Linked DNA regions of Homo sapiens: regions 1, 2 and 3 are each linked to region 4. The links are contacts of gene promoters, found by promoter capture Hi-C in blood cells and fetal thymus (Javierre and others, 2016). All regions are on one chromosome and are shown on one strand. The core of a region is centred on a gene start or on the middle of the fragment in contact, and the rest is flanking DNA. Distances in the headings are between cores, read along the strand shown.

Region 1 (3,657 bases), core at 448-2,947, 290 kb before region 4:
CATCGGTGGGCCAGGTGGCCCGTGTGGACGTCAGCAGCAAGGTGGAGGTGGTGTGGGCTGACAACTCAAAGACCATCATCCTGCCCCAGGTGAGGCTCTGGCAAGACCCCCCTGCTGAGCTTGTGACTATGGCAACTTGGGCCGGGGGCCACAGGCGTGTAGCCAGAAGATGGGCTCTCAGGTCTTCCTGGTGAGATCTCAGCGAAAGCGTGAGGGGAAAGGCAGGCATTCCACACAGCCCTTGGTGCAGGCCTGCAGTTGGCCCACCAGCCTCGCTTCTCCCAGCAATCTCTTCACGTCCATCTCTGGGTGCATGTAGACTTTCACAAACCTCCAGGATTTTCCTGGATTGTCAGCTCACTATGCTACGAAGAATGCAAGTTCCCTCCTAAAAGGAGATGGAGACTTTCCTACCACCCTTTTTAGAAAGCTCTAACAGAGAAGGAGAGAAAGGAGAGAGCCGACCCAGTTCTAGCCCCACCTGCTGGGTCCTGAGCAGAAGGGCTACACGGGCTCTCCTTCCCTCGCCTCCTGGTTGGAGCCACACAGCCCAGCTCTCCTCTCCTGGTCCACACAGGGGGCAGGAGTGGGGGCGGGAATGGCTTGCCCCATCACCTTAACGGCCATTCCAGGGAACGCAGCAGGATATGTCGGCCCTTCTACATGTCCCCTCTTGTCATATGTTCCCAGCTCCCCACACAGGCCTCCTTGGCTGCATCATTAGCTGACCCTGCGCTTTTCAGGTGTGGGACTGGGCCTGCCAAGGTCCCCTAACGCCTTGGACAGATGCTGACGAAGTGCACAGAGCAGGAGGAGAGGCTGGAACAGACCACTGGCTGGGGCTTTGGGTCCAGCTGGAGGGTGGGACAGGTGAAGGGCCTCTCCCAGAGACCTAGGGACTGCAAAAGCCAGAGCAGAGGTCAGGGAAAGGGTGGAATGAGGTTGCCAAGGCCTCATGAGCCCAGTCGCCATCAGCTGTGCGGATCAGGGATCCCCAGAGCTCCTCCTTAGTGGTGGGGAGGTGACTTCCTGTCTGCTTACCCTGGCACTTCCCTTCTGCCCCCAGCACTTGTACAACATAGAGTCTGAGATTGAGGAGTCAGACTACGATTCGGTAGAAGGCAGCACCAGCGGGGCATCCTCGGATGAATGGGAAGATGATAGTGACAGCTGGGAGACGGACAATGGGCTGGTGGAGGACGAGCACCCCAAGATAGAGGAGCCCCCCATCCCACCCCTGGAGCAGCCGGTGGCCCCTGAGGACAAGGGAGTGGTGATCAGTGAAGAGGCAGCCACAGCTGCCGTCCAGGGGGCTGTGGCCATGGCTGCCCCCATGGCCGGGCTGATGGAGAAGGCTGGCAAGGACGGGCCACCCAAGAGCTTCCGGGAGTTGAAAGAGGCCATCAAGATCCTGGAGAGCCTCAAGAACATGACTGTGGAGCAGCTGCTGACGGGCTCGCCCACCTCTCCGACTGTGGAGCCTGAGAAGCCAACTCGGGAGAAGAAGTTTCTGGATGACATCAAGAAGCTACAGGAAAACCTCAAGAAGACCCTGGACAATGTGGCCATTGTAGAGGAGGAGAAGATGGAAGCAGTGCCCGACGTAGAGCGCAAGGAGGACAAGCCCGAGGGGCAGTCACCTGTGAAGGCTGAGTGGCCCAGCGAAACCCCGGTGCTGTGCCAGCAGTGTGGCGGCAAGCCTGGCGTCACCTTCACCAGCGCCAAGGGCGAGGTCTTCTCCGTACTGGAGTTTGCACCCTGTGAGTCAGCCCTTGCCTGGTCTTCGCCTTCCCCCGCCTTCTCGGGGCTCCTGTTTGTGTCACCAGATCTGGGTGCAGGGTGGTTAGTCCCCTCGCCAGACCCCAGCTACTGCCCCAGGGCAAACCATTTCCCTGTGTGGTCACAGTGCTGAGGCCAGCAGCGGCGAGTGGGAAGTCTGTGGGTGTGCTCACCTGTCCAGCCAGGTTGGCAGATGGAGCTCCAGGGCCTCTCCATGAGGGACTGACTATTCTCTTCCCCCCTCTAGCAAATCATTCTTTTAAGAAAATTGAGTTCCAGCCTCCAGAAGCCAAGAAGTTCTTCAGCACAGTGCGGAAGGAGATGGCGCTGCTGGCTACCTCACTGCCTGAGGGCATCATGGTCAAGACTTTTGAAGATAGAATGGCAAGTAGGCTTGGCATGGGCAGGTGCAGATGTGCTGTGTGGGCACCCAGTGCCCAAGAGGCCACCAACCTTGGGTCCCCAAACCTCCGGGGCTGACTGGCACCTGCGAGGACACTCACCCACCCACCTTTTACAGGGGCGGTCACAGGCTCAGTCAGGTGAGGGCTGACTCAGCCGTGTGTCCAGGCCAGATGGTTCTTTCTTTCCTCCCTCCTTTAAAAAATTACTTTCTCGGCCGGGCGCAGTGGCTCACACCCGTAATCCCAGCACTTTGGGAGGCCGAGGTGGGTGGATCACGAGGTCAGGAGATCGAGACCATCCTGGCTAACACAGTGAAACCCCGTCTCCACTAAAAAAAAAAAAAAAATTACAAAAAACTCTCCCGCCACCATGCGGGCGCCTGTAGTCCCAGCTACTCTGGAGGCTGAGGCAGGAGAATGGCGTGAACCTGGGAGGTGGAGCTTGCAGTGAGCCGAGATCACGCCACTGCACTCCAGCCTGGGTGACAGAGCGAGATTCTGTCTCAAAAAAAAAAATTACTTTGAAATAGGCCGGGTGCGGTGGCTCACGACTGTAATCCCAGCACTTCGGGAAGCCGAGGCAGGTGGATCACCTGAGGTCAGAAGTTTGAGACCAGCCTGACCAACCCGGTGAAACCCTGTCTCTACTAAAAATACAAAAATTAGCCGGATGTGGTGGCGGGTGCCAGTAATCCCAGCTACTCGGGAGACTGAGGCAGGAGAATCACTTGAACCTGGGAGGCAGAGGTTGTAGTGAGCCAAGATCGCACCATTGCACTCCAGCCTGGGCAACAGAGCGAGACTTCATCTCAAAAAAAAAAAAATTACTTTGAAATTAATTATATTATGATTACTCCTCAAGCCTACTTTTCTTTTTGAAAAATTAGAACATTACAGATCCTTTGAGTGGAAATGGAAGAGCTAAAGTTGCCTTTGACCAGACCTCACTTCCCTTTCTCCCCGAATCATAGGCCTCTTCCCACACCCAGAGGATTGTTGGAAGTTTAGTGGGTCTCCTTCCAAACGGATGACCTTTTTTTTATACTTTTACATTATTTATACACTAAAAAAATATTTTTACATTTTCATGTATCACCATAAGTACATAATATTTTGTATGATTTGTTTACACACAGAATATGTCGTCGTACACATCATCTCTAATTTGCTTAAGACCAACCTGTGTTGATTCATAATGATCTAGTTTCTTCCTTTTTACCTGCAAAATAGGATGACAGCATGTGGCCACACCACATTCCATTTTCCCACTCCTCTGTTCGTGGACGGGGCCTAGTGTCTCTGAGTCATGTTTACTGAGGCAGCGCTGAGTGCATCCTTCCGGAACAGGCAAGCCCGTTTGCCTGCCACCTTGTTGACTCCGCAGTCCCTTACTGGGCCTGTGCATCGAGCCAAGCACTATGCTAGACTCTGAATCTGAGTCTGAGGCCCCAGTTCTGGCCCTGTCCTGGAAGGA
Region 2 (4,083 bases), core at 1,001-3,500, 360 kb before region 4:
GGTGCTGTTAGAGGTTTGTAATCCCCCCACCCCACCTCTCGAGCTATCCCAGGCAGGATGACGCCAGCAGGGCTCTGGCAGCCTCGGCCCCTGCCTTGCTGAAGGGAAACGTCAGCTCTGGTGCCCTGGGCACAGAAGGGATTACCAGAGGCTGACTGAGGCCCCAGGGTTTGGGGAAGAGAGCGTGGGGCTAAGCCTCAGGGGTCCATCTCTAATCCCTGCTCTGTCACCGACTGGCTGGGCACCAGCGATTCTCCCTCTGTCCCTCGGAGTCTTGGACAAGCCCACCTCTTATGTGGGGGGAGGGGGTGGGAATTCAAGCTACCAATTTGTGCACTTTAAGTACGTTCTACTTCAAGTTTATTTAAATATTTAATTTAATTAAATATTTAAATATTCAGGAGGTTGCCCTACCAAACATCTCAACTACAAAGCTCTCTGCTATTGACCTTGGCTCCACCCATTCCCAGGGCTGCCCAGGCCTTGGCACTTGGTGCTGGCATTCCCTCGGGATGCAGGCCCCTCTCCCTGTTGGCTCTGACTACCCCCTGCCCTCCAGCTCACACCCCATCCTGCACCCCTTAGCTCTTCTCTCGCCAGCACCTGCCTCTCCGCCCCACCCAGCAGTGCAGATCCTGTGTCCATCTCGGGCTCCTGGGGGTCCTGGAGGTTGGATTTCACAGGTGCACTCTTTTGACCCCCTGCAGAGGAAGCTTCTGCTCCTACCCACACAGCTTGGGACGGACCTCTGAGGGTCCTTCCTGTCCTGGCAGCCTGTGAGTGCCACTGCTTACAGCACTTGCTATGTGCCGGGCCCTGGATACGCGTCTCCTTTAATCCACACGGAAGCCCGGCCAAATGAGTATTAACCACGTTATAGAGAAGGAAACCGAGGCACAGACAGGTTCAGTAACCTGCTCAGAGCCATCCAACAAGTGAAGGGGGAGGGGCAAAGCCGGGTCAGCCTCCTGACATGCACTGCCACGGCTGCACTGGTGGGACCCACTCATCTCACAATGAGACTCCTGTTTCCTGTCTTCATGATTCTCCTGCTGGTTTTCAGTGTCCTCACAGGTGCACTCTTTCGACCCCCCCGCAGAGGAAGCTCCTGTTCCTACCCATACGGTTTGGGACACAGCCCCTGACCGTGGAGTGACCCCGTCCCGATGCCCCCGCCCACCCACCACATGCATTCCTCCTGTCTCTGGGTCCCCTTCTCCCAGGGCCCCTCTGCACTCTGAGGCCCACCTGCCTGCTAGAAGGGACCCTCAACAGACCTCTCAGGACCGACCAGAGACCTCCTTGGGCTTGGTTGGTGGGGTGGTCATGTCCAAGACCTCAGCTGGGCATCCCCACCTTCAACCTCCAGGGTCCCCCAAAAGGCCTCTTCTGTCCCTTCATAGACTGTGGCTCCATGGCACCCCCTGGTGGCCAATCCTAATCAGTCACTTGGCGATGCCTGAGAAGAGCCTGCTGTTCAATCGGCCTCTCTCTTTGCTGACTTCCACATGGCCCTGTTCTTTCCGGACAACACCCTAGAGGTCTAGAACCTCAGGGAACAAGATGAGGCAGTAAGCCAGGCACAGTGGCTCACCGCTGTAATCCCAGCACTTTGGGAGACAGAGACGGGAGGATGGCTTGAGCCGGAGAGGTCGAGGCTGTAGTGACTCGCCACTGCACTCCAGCCTGGGCGACAGAGCGAGACCCTGTCTCAAAAAAATACAAATAAAAATAAATTTTTTTTAAAGATGAGGCGGTATGTTAAACATGGTGAAACTGGGAAGTTCAAACCCTTGTGGGACAGGAGAGGAGACAGGGGAGGGCAGGGTGATCGCTGGGACCTTTGTCCTGGTCAACAGGAAGAAAACCACATACCACCACCAATGAGAAGGAAAATAAGGAGGGTGAGGGGCCCAACAGGGTGATGGGTACAGAGAGAAGGAGATCCCTGGGGCTGGGCATAGTGGCTCACACCTGTAATCCCAGCACTTTGGGAGGCCAAGGCAGGAGGATCACTTGAGCCCAGGAGTTTGAGACCAGCCTGGGCAACATAGCAAGACCCCTGTCTCTACAAAAAATTTAAAAATCAGCCAAGCATGGTGGCACACACCTGTAGCCCCAGCTACTTGGGAGGCTGAGGTGGGAAGATCACTTGAGCCTAGGTGGTTCAGGCTGCAGTGATGAGCCACTGCACTCCAGCCTGGGTAACTGAGCAAGATGTTGTCTCAAAAAAAAAAAAAAAAATCCTGACCTCAGGTGGGCTCTAAAAAAGAAGCACCTCCGAGATCATCCTCACGCCAGGGACACCGATTGCACTGTTTATCAGATGCCCAGTCTTGTCCTGCTATTGCAGTTAAGAGTGCTGGCAACGCCTCTGGTGACTGCCTCTCAGGTGGATCTTGGGGATGGGGGGGAGAATGTGTCCTTTGCCCCCCAAGTCGTACCTGTTCAGTCACTCTAGACAGCTGATAAACACCTAACCTGATGGGCAAGGCCGGGCACGGTGGCTCATGCCTGTAATCCCAGCACTTTGGGAGGCTGAGGCGGGTGGATCACCTGAGGTCAAGAGTTCGAGACCAGCCTGGCCAATATGGTGAAACTCCGTCTCTACTAAAAATACAAAAAATCAGCCAGGTGTGGTGGTGGGCGCTTGTAATCCCAGCCACTTGGGAGGCTGAGGCAGGAGAATTGCTTGAACCCAGGAAGCAGAGGTTGCAGTGAGCCAAGATCGTGCCATTGTACTCCAGCCTGGGCAAAAAGAGTGAAACTGCTATCTCAAAAAAAAAAAATATATAGATACAGACAGGGAGAAGCTGGCATCTGTATGTTTCCCAGGGGTGCTGTAACAGATGATACACAAACTGGATGACTGTAAACCACAGAAATGGCTTGACGTCGTGGCTCATGCCTGTAATCCCAGCACTTTGGGAGGCCGAGGCTCTTTGTTCCCAGCCTCTCCCTCCAGCAGCAGCTCCCTTGAAAGTCCTGTATCCACAACTCACCCACCGCGACTCCCTGCCCAGTGTGTACCATGCCACCCTGCCTCACCCATGATGGCTCCCCTCAGGGGTCCCCCTGTCTCTCCACCCAGCCTGGCCTCTTTCGATCTCCCAGACAGATTTACACATTTCAAATGCCAGATGGGGTTCAGTTTTCTCCCAAAAGGCTCTTCGGTCCCATGAAAATCATGGTCTGTGACTGGGCTTCCACTTCAAGACTCCAGAATATTCTTTTTTTTTTTTTTTTTAAGACAGAGTCTTGCTCTGTGGCCCAGGCTGGAGTGCAATGGCACAATCTCGGCTCACTGCAACCTCCGCCTCCCAGGTTCAAGCAATTCTCCTGCCTTAGCCTCCCAAGTAGCTGGGATTACGGGCGCACACCACCATGCCTGGCTAATTTTTTTTATTTTTCCTAGAGATGGGCTTTCGCCATATTGGTCAGGCTGGTCTCAAACTCCTGAACTCAGGTGATCCACCTGCCTCAGCCTCCTAAAGTGTTGGGATTACAGGCGTGAGCCACCGCACCCAGGCAGGACTCCAGAATATTCTATAGCAGTTTGGAGAGGGGTTGTCCAGGGCACACAGAGAACTGCCAGGGACCATGCTACCTAACTCCCCACCTGCCCTGGTAGAGCCTCACCTCTGACCCATCAGAGCCCCCATCCCACTCCTAATCAGATGTGGTGAGGATGATGACGACAGTTATTGAGCGGATAACTGATATCATGACAGTAAAAAAGGTTCTGAGAGGATGTGTATCACCACACGAAAGCTGAGAACCAAGCTTTTGGGATGTCCACTGTTAGCAGGGAAAGGAGTTATTAACAGGAACACAGGTGAAGCCACAAGAAGGGAAGAACCCAGGGGAGAATGTCCAAGAAATGGGGCAGATAGAGCCTGAAATGCCACAAAGAATGGAGAACAGATCTCAGATTCTGCCAACAGGGAGGCTCCGATGACCTTTAAGAATCCTTCCAGAAAAGGCCGGGCACGGTGGCTCACACCTGTAATCCCAGCACTTTAGGAGGCTGAGGTGGGTGGATAGCTCGAGGTCAGGAGTTCAATAGCAGTCTGGCTAACATGG
Region 3 (3,572 bases), core at 723-3,222, 340 kb before region 4:
TGTGTTTTTGCTTTAGGACATTAGAGGCCTCTTTGCACCTTCCCCATCTCTACTTCACTTTTATCCCTGTTTCTCTCTGTTTTGTTTGTTTGGTTTTTTTTTTTGTTTGTTTTTGTTTTTTCATTTTCCTGTTATACTAAGAGGAACTTTTTCTATTTTTTACTACTTAACCCACCATGGGGGCTCATGGAATCCAGTGGAACCTGTTGGGGGCCAGCACTTTTTAAAAGGGTGCAATTGTCGTGTATAACATGAATTGCCAGCACAACAGTCCTGGGCACGTGATCAGTGTCAGCTGCCGCTGGTGGTCGGTCCCCTCAGAGTTGGAGTCAGGGTGGTTTTCTGTGACATGTGGGTTTTCACCCAGGAGGATATGATCTGTGCTCCTATTCTGATGGAAGCTTTTGGAATTTCCTTGCCCAAGGCTTAGCCTGCTTCTGGATGGCGATGGGGAGTTGCTGATTTAAAATGACAATCAAAAGGGGCAAGTTACAATCAGGAACGTCTATAATGTGCTTTCCAGTTTACAAGAGGCTATCACTTTTCTCACTTAATAGGATCTCGGTATTTTTAACTGTAGCTCCTTCCTGAGGCTCCACTTGCCCATGAATGGGTGCCAGTCCTGGAGAAGGTCATGGTCTAAATGCTGCCCATCCACATTTGCAGCTCTTACTGAGCAAGAGTGCCCGTTCGGAATTGCTTCATCTTCTGACATTCCAGCCAGCCACGGGGGGACTCTGTCAGGAGCCACTTGATGTGTGCAGTTATAGCCAGGGAAGAGCAAAATGCTTATTGGAATTTGCTGTAGTTGAGAATAAAATTGAATTGTGTTACTGGATAACTCTCTGGATTTATCTACTCCAAGTTATTTGCCTTTGTTTCATTCGTTAGCTATACTCTGTGATTGAGGATTTAATGTCCTTCAATCCAGGCTGACTGTATTGGATGGATCCTTGGGTCAGCTTTGTCCAGGTCACCCCTAGACACAGGTAGGCTGTGTTCTCCTGAAGCAGTATTGTGAAAAGCACATTTTTATGGTTTAAACATTGCAGTCAGTTGACATACCACTCAGAAGTATTCAGTGGGCAATAAGGATTGGAATGAATGTCCTTTTTGGGTTTAATCTGGTTCTTTGGTTGGGGGATTTTGAGTTGGTTTGCATTTTTAGAGAGGCCACAGCAATATTTAATATTCTGCAGCTAAGTCAAAGGAGTAAGACATTTTTCAGGTCACTTTTGGTTTAAATTGATAGCATAACTATACCTGGGAAACAGTCTGACTATGATAATTGAAAGTAAAAAAAAAAATTAAAACACTGAGTCATGCTTGGAAAAAGAAAAAAAAAAAGGCAGTCAGTCCTACCCAACAATGACATGAATATTCCCAGCTAGCACTGACAGAGAGATTTCCTGCAGGCACCCTTAAAAAGAGAGGCCTTCATTTGCATCCTGCAAGAGAGCTGGTCTTTTCACACTCAGCAGCTCCGATGATGTTCTTCCTCCTCCTTTTAATTCTGGTCCTTTTTGTGGGAGCTCCCTCTGGAAGAGGGCAGTTGAAGATAGATACCTTGACCGGCAGATTCAGCGGACTGTGTGTGTGGTCACCGGACTGTGTGTGTGGTCACCGCTAGTGCAGGTGGGAAGTGTAGACACACAAATACGTCTCCAGGGATTCTGGGAGCCTCAGGGCTTGACATATGCAGTGCTGAAAGCATCCCGGTATTCATGTGCTCTGACTGTTTTATTATTTAAGGGATTCTGAGGGCCCTGAAGGTTGATGACATCATCTTCAAGCCAAGGAAGAAAGCATTTCTCTGGTCCCCCAGTGTGCTTTTGGGTCATCCCAGCACTGTACTGGGGGAAATGGATGTCTGCCTCCATTTCCTCATGACCTGCTCTCGCCTTCAGTCATTTTCTGTCTAACCTCTCACACCACTGAGTGTGACGGCTCCCCTGAAGGTCACAAATGACTAGTGAATTTCTGATCACTGCATTTGCTGACATTTTCTCAGTCCTTGTCCTCATTTTGATCCATCAGCCTTATGCTCTGTCACCCAGGCTGGAATGCAGTGGCGTGATCACACCTTACTGCAGCCTCCGCCTCCTGGGCTCAAGCAGTGCTCCCACCTCAGCCTCCTGTGCAGCTGGAACTACACACTCGGCTTTTTAAAATATTTTTGTAGAAACAGGGTCTCACCATGGTATTGGCCAGGCTGGTCTCGAACTCCTGACCCCAAGTGATCCTCCCACTTCAGCTTCCCAAAGTGTTGGGATTACAGACGTGAGCCACGGTGCCTAGCTGACCACACCCTCTTTGTTTTGTTTTGTTTTGTTTTGCTTTGTTTGTGAGATGGAGTCTCAGTCTGTCGCCCAGGCTGGAGTGCAGTGGTGCAACCTTGGCTCACTGCAACCTCTGCCTTCTGGGTTCTAGCGATTCTCCTGCCTCAGCCTCCCAAGTAGCTGGGATTACAGGCTCCCGCCACCACGTCCGAGTAATATTTGTCTTTTTAGCAGAGACGGGGTTTCACCATATTGGTCAGGCTGGTCTCGAACTCTTGACCTCAGGTGATCCATCCGCCTCAGCTTCCCAAAGTGCTGGGATTACAGGCATGAGCTACCGCGCCTGGCCGACCATGCCCTCTTAACGGTATTTCCTTCCTTGGGGTTCTATTATACCAGACTATACCAAATGTTTCTCTTTTTTGCCTTTTGTCTTCTTCCTCTTACCCATAGATGTGCAGCTTTTCCAAAGACCTCTCTTTTCTTTATCTCTTCCTCCCCAGTTTTTTGGAGTGACCTCCCTGCTTGTAGCTGCATCTGGTACCTGTATTTAGGTGACTTCCACAGTGACATCACATGCCCAGCTGCTTACTTGATAGCTCCATTGTGCCATGTAGACTTTGTGGGTATAAAATCTTGTGATTGTGACTGCCCTTCCCATCCCCAAGTCTGTGGACTTAAAAAAAAAAAAAATGTTCTGACTGGGCACAGTGGCTCACGCCTGTAATCCCAGCATTTTGGGAGGCCGAGGTGGGTGGATCACTTGAGGTCAGGAGTTCGAGACCAGCCTGGCCAACATGGTGAAACCCCATCTCTACTAAAAATGCAAAAATTAGCCATGCGTGGTGGTGGGTGCCTGTGATCCCAGCTACTCGGGAGGCTAGGGCAGGAGAATTGCTTGAACCCAGGAGGCAGAGGTTGCAGTGAGCCGAGATCGTGCCCCGGCACTCCAGCCTGGGCGACAGAGTGAGACTCTTTCTCGAGGAAAAAAATATATATATATATTCCCCAACTTTTTTTGTTTTTGGTTCTGAACCCAAGACCCAACTTTTTAATAGGAAAAAATATTGACCATACCAAAATGTTGAAAGCCAGTAATTGCTAACCCCCAACCATTATGAGTCAGCAGTTGTTAACATCCTGCCATATTTGCCTTATCTGTATGCTTATGTAAATATATTTCCTCCTGAATTATGTCTGGTACTAACTCCTGCTAAGTTAGTGGCAGACATGATAGCACTTCACCCCTAAATACCTAAGCTTGAATCTTCTCAAAATTAGAGCATTTGGGGT
Region 4 (3,611 bases), core at 239-2,738:
AAAAAAAAAGAGAGAGAGAGAGAGACTCAGGTTAAATGCTGGACCAGGCCCTCAAAGGTAGTCCACCTGAGCCCAAAACACCCTCTCTACAGCGGCTAACTAGCCCCGCTACTCTATTCTGTGACATCTAACAGTTTAAACTTTCTCCTACTTAGCCCTTTGGACTACACAAGGACCATGTCAGCGAAATCATCCTGGGTATTTCCTGACACAGGAATCAGCCTTTTATCTCCCCCACCTACAACAGGATTGAAATTGTCCTCTTGCCTGAGGGAAGGCTGCCCATCCCTCTCCAGGCTCTGTGCACCCACTTCCTCCTCCTCCTCCTCTTCGGGTGACTATGGGTGGAGTGAGCGCTTGGGAACCCTAGAGCTTGGGTTCTTCCTTCTCTCCTTCTCTCCTTAGGCCGGGAGCAGGGGCTCACGCCTGTAATCTCAGGACTTTGGAAGGCCAAGGCGGGTGGATCACTTGAGGTCAGGAGTTCGAGACTAGCCTGGGCAACATGGCGAAACCCTGTCTCTACTAATAATACAAAAAAATTAGCCGGGCGTGTTGGCAGCCGCCTGTAATCCCAGCTACTCGGGACGCTGAGGCACGAGAATCACTTGAACCCGGGAGGCAGAGACTGCAATGAGCCAAGATCGTGCCACTTGCACTCCAGCCTGGGCGACAGAGTGAGACTCTCTCTCAAAAGAAAAGAAAGGAAAAAAAAAGCTTGGTGTCCCCCCTGCCCGCCCCAAACCTTCTCATCTACCAGCACATGCCTCCTTGTCTATCTTCCGGGTGTCTGGACACTGAGGCCACAGAAGGACTGAACCAAGCTGGTCGGCCTTGTCCTTTCTCAAGGCTGGGGGCCAGAGGCAGGGTGGGCAGGGACGGGTTAGAGGAAGGAGTAACTCGAGGTTTTGCAGGAGCTGGGTCTGCAACCACAACATCCAGCCCCGCAGGGAAGTTGATCCAGGGGCGCCCCCCACCCCGTCCCCTGGAGCTGCAGTTGGACGCTGGGTCTGGGCCTGGAGCTCCGGAGCAGCCCCGCCAGCCCACAGGATACGTTTTTGCGTAATGCAGGGTGGAAGGCGGAAACAAGTACACAAGCCCCTGGTTCATTACATGGACACACGTTAGGCATCTACTGTGTCACCTGCTCCGTGCGGGGCTTTGTGGGAAACGCAATTGGCCTTGGTGCCTGCCCATAGAATGCGACCTGGGGAAAGGAATTCGTCGCCTTCCCCAGCAGTCTTTATCAAAAGGGTCGGTCTTTCAACGAAAACAGCAAGTGAGCTCTAAGTGTCCTGCCAGCCGCGGGACATAAGGCCGATCGAAAACCTCTGCTGAGGCAAGGAACCCGCGTCGAGGTCCCTTGCAGCATCCGAATACACTTCTCTTCCCAGCCACGCTCAAAATGGCCGTCGGTCCGTTCTTGGGCTCCGCGCAGGCGCACTTCAGCCTGCGATTCCCAACATGGCTCCGCCCAGGCGTCCCGGGGCGGGACCAAGAGCGGAAGTGGGTGTGACGGGGACGGGGGCCCGGTGGGCCCGCGGAGGAAAGATACTGGGGAGTGGGAGCCGCGGGGTTCAGAGCGATGATTCCCCCACAGGAGGCATCCGCTCGACGGCGGGAGATTGAGGACAAGCTGAAGCAGGTGGGCGTGGGCCTGGGGAGGCTGGGGAGGAGGTGAGGGAAAGGGGCCAACAGCGGGGCCTGATTGTCTACTCATGGAGGAGGCAGGGGTGGGAGGGAGCGCACCCAGCGAGGAGATGGGGTTGGGGGCTAGGCCGTGGGGTTGGGACGCAGTGGTCTCCTTTAGCTTCTGGTTTCTGGTGATGTCCTCCCCTTGCCTGCCCCCAGGAGGAGGAGACTCTGTCCTTCATCCGAGACAGCCTGGAGAAGAGCGACCAGCTCACTAAGAACATGGTGAGTCTCCCCGCAGCTGGGGGAGAGGGCAGGCCTCCGGACCCTGGGGGAGAGCCTTGCGACCTGGCGGTTCCGGTTCCTGCGGCCTGGAGTTCTGGAATGGGCAGCGACGGAGGCAGTGTGTGGGTTTATCTAGCAACAGTTTGGCATCTCTCCTGCCTAGCCCCCTCCCCATGTTCCGTACCCTCACTGAGGAGGCTGCACTTCCCACTGGCCTGGACTTGCTGCTTTCTGTCTAAGCTCGCCATTCTTCCTTCTCTCCTTCTGCAAACACTCAGTGAGTCTGACCAGTTGGGCTAGGTACTGGGCATATGTCATTGTCAGTGGACTCTCTGCCCAGGAGGTTGGCACTTTGAGATTCCTGAGGGCAGAGAAGACTCAGCCTTCACTCCAGAGGACTTTAGGGAAAGAAAGAGCTCTAAAGTCAGGCAGATCTGGGATCTAGTCCTTGCCCTTCTGCTTAAATGTGCGGCTCCTGATAGGTAACTGGTGTCAGCGAATTCATCTGCTAAAACAGAGACTGTGCCAGCCTCCCAGTGTGTCTGTGAAGGTCATATGCGCTAATGCATGCGACTGCATCTTGCACAGTGCCTGGTATACAATAGGTGCTCAATAAGTGAGTTTCCTTCTTTATTCCTAGGGGAGACTGGAAAAGCACAAAGTGAGTAAATACAAACTTGTATTTGCATTTAGTCACACAATAATAAAGTCCTAGTCCTTTTCTAAAAATTTTAATTTTTAAATTTTTTTTTTTAGAGGCAGAGTCTGGCTGTGTTGTGCAGGCTAGAGTGCAGTGGCATGACTGTAGCTCACTGCAGTCTCTAACTCCTGGGCTCAGGCAGTCCTCCTGCCTCGGCCTCCTAGCAGCTGGGACTGTAGGCACACACCACCACGCCTTGCTAATTGTGTGTGTGTGTGTGTGTGTGTGTGTGTGTGTGTGTGTCTGTGTGTGTAGACAGGGTCTCACTGTGTTGTCCAGGCTTGTCTTGAACTCCTAGTCTCAAGCTAACCTCCCGCCTCAGCCTCCCAAATTCTGGGTATTACAGGCATGAACCATCACGCCCAGCCTCTAGTCCTTATTCAATGAGTTTCATCCTTAGAGAGGGTTTTGAAGATACAGCAATGCATTTGAGGCTACTCTGTATGAAACTACTTCCAGTCCGGTTTAGGAATGCTTCAGAGAGAACAGAAGTTGAGATTTGGCTTCAAAGGGTGGAAGGGAAGCCATCTTGGGCTGATTATTTTAAGAAGAATTAATTTGATGCTTGGTTTGCCTTCAAATAAAATTTCAACCAATTTGTCTTAGACCACCTACTATATGCCAGGCACATGATAGGTGCTGAAGATACAGTGGGGAACAGGTACACCCTGTTCCTTCGCTTGTGGAGTTTATTGTCTAGAAAACCAGAGAAAAGGCAGGAAATGCCGAAGGTGGGTGTGTAGAAGCAGTGCTGGGACCACTGTGAGTCCCAAGATCAAGAGGCTTCCCTCCCGCAGGTGTCTATCTTATCATCCTTTGAGAGCCGCCTTATGAAGCTGGAGAACTCCATCATCCCTGTGCACAAGCAGACGGAGAATCTGCAGCGGCTGCAGGAGAATGTTGAGAAGACGCTGTCCTGCCTGGACCATGTCATCAGCTACTACCATGTGGCCAGTGACACTGAGAAGATCATCAGAGAGGGGTGAGTGAGTGAGGC

The links. The method cuts DNA at HindIII sites, captures the fragments that hold promoters and counts their contacts. A CHiCAGO score of 5 or more calls a contact.
Region 1: a fragment that was not itself captured here is called in contact with the fragment with the promoter of EXOC7 in region 4 in 6 of 17 cell types (activated CD4 T cells, M0 macrophages, M1 macrophages and 3 more); the score reaches 6.4 in activated CD4 T cells.
Region 2: a fragment that was not itself captured here is called in contact with the fragment with the promoter of EXOC7 in region 4 in 1 of 17 cell types (naive B cells); the score reaches 5.5 in naive B cells.
Region 3: a contact is called between a fragment that was not itself captured here and the fragment with the promoter of EXOC7 in region 4, in 4 of 17 cell types (activated CD4 T cells, M1 macrophages, M2 macrophages and 1 more). The highest score is 6.5, in activated CD4 T cells.

The regions. Positions count from the first base shown.
Region 1 is chr17:76,394,231-76,397,887 of GRCh38, reverse strand. It overlaps UBE2O (ubiquitin conjugating enzyme E2 O), which reads left to right. Exons shown (of 18, transcript NM_022066.4): 13 at 1-89; 14 at 1,067-1,760; 15 at 2,027-2,163. Among named protein-coding and RNA genes, the nearest start is that of SPHK1, 11 kb to the right of the region's middle. The HindIII fragment of the contact is 6,073 bases long and covers 1-3,657 here.
Region 2 is chr17:76,463,506-76,467,588 of GRCh38, reverse strand. It overlaps a transcript of AANAT not described here. Among named protein-coding and RNA genes, the nearest start is that of AANAT, 2.1 kb to the left of the region's middle. The HindIII fragment of the contact is 3,070 bases long and covers 716-3,785 here.
Region 3 is chr17:76,442,995-76,446,566 of GRCh38, reverse strand. All of the region lies in intron 1 of UBE2O (ubiquitin conjugating enzyme E2 O), which reads left to right. Among named protein-coding and RNA genes, the nearest start is that of UBE2O, 8.4 kb to the left of the region's middle. RefSeq lists enhancers at 1,621-1,780, 3,455-3,572. The HindIII fragment of the contact is 3,138 bases long and covers 404-3,541 here.
Region 4 is chr17:76,101,664-76,105,274 of GRCh38, reverse strand. It overlaps EXOC7 (exocyst complex component 7), which reads left to right and starts at 1,488. Exons shown (of 19, transcript NM_001013839.4): 1 at 1,488-1,642; 2 at 1,849-1,914; 3 at 3,412-3,596. The coding sequence starts at 1,583. The HindIII fragment of the contact is 3,319 bases long and covers 717-3,611 here.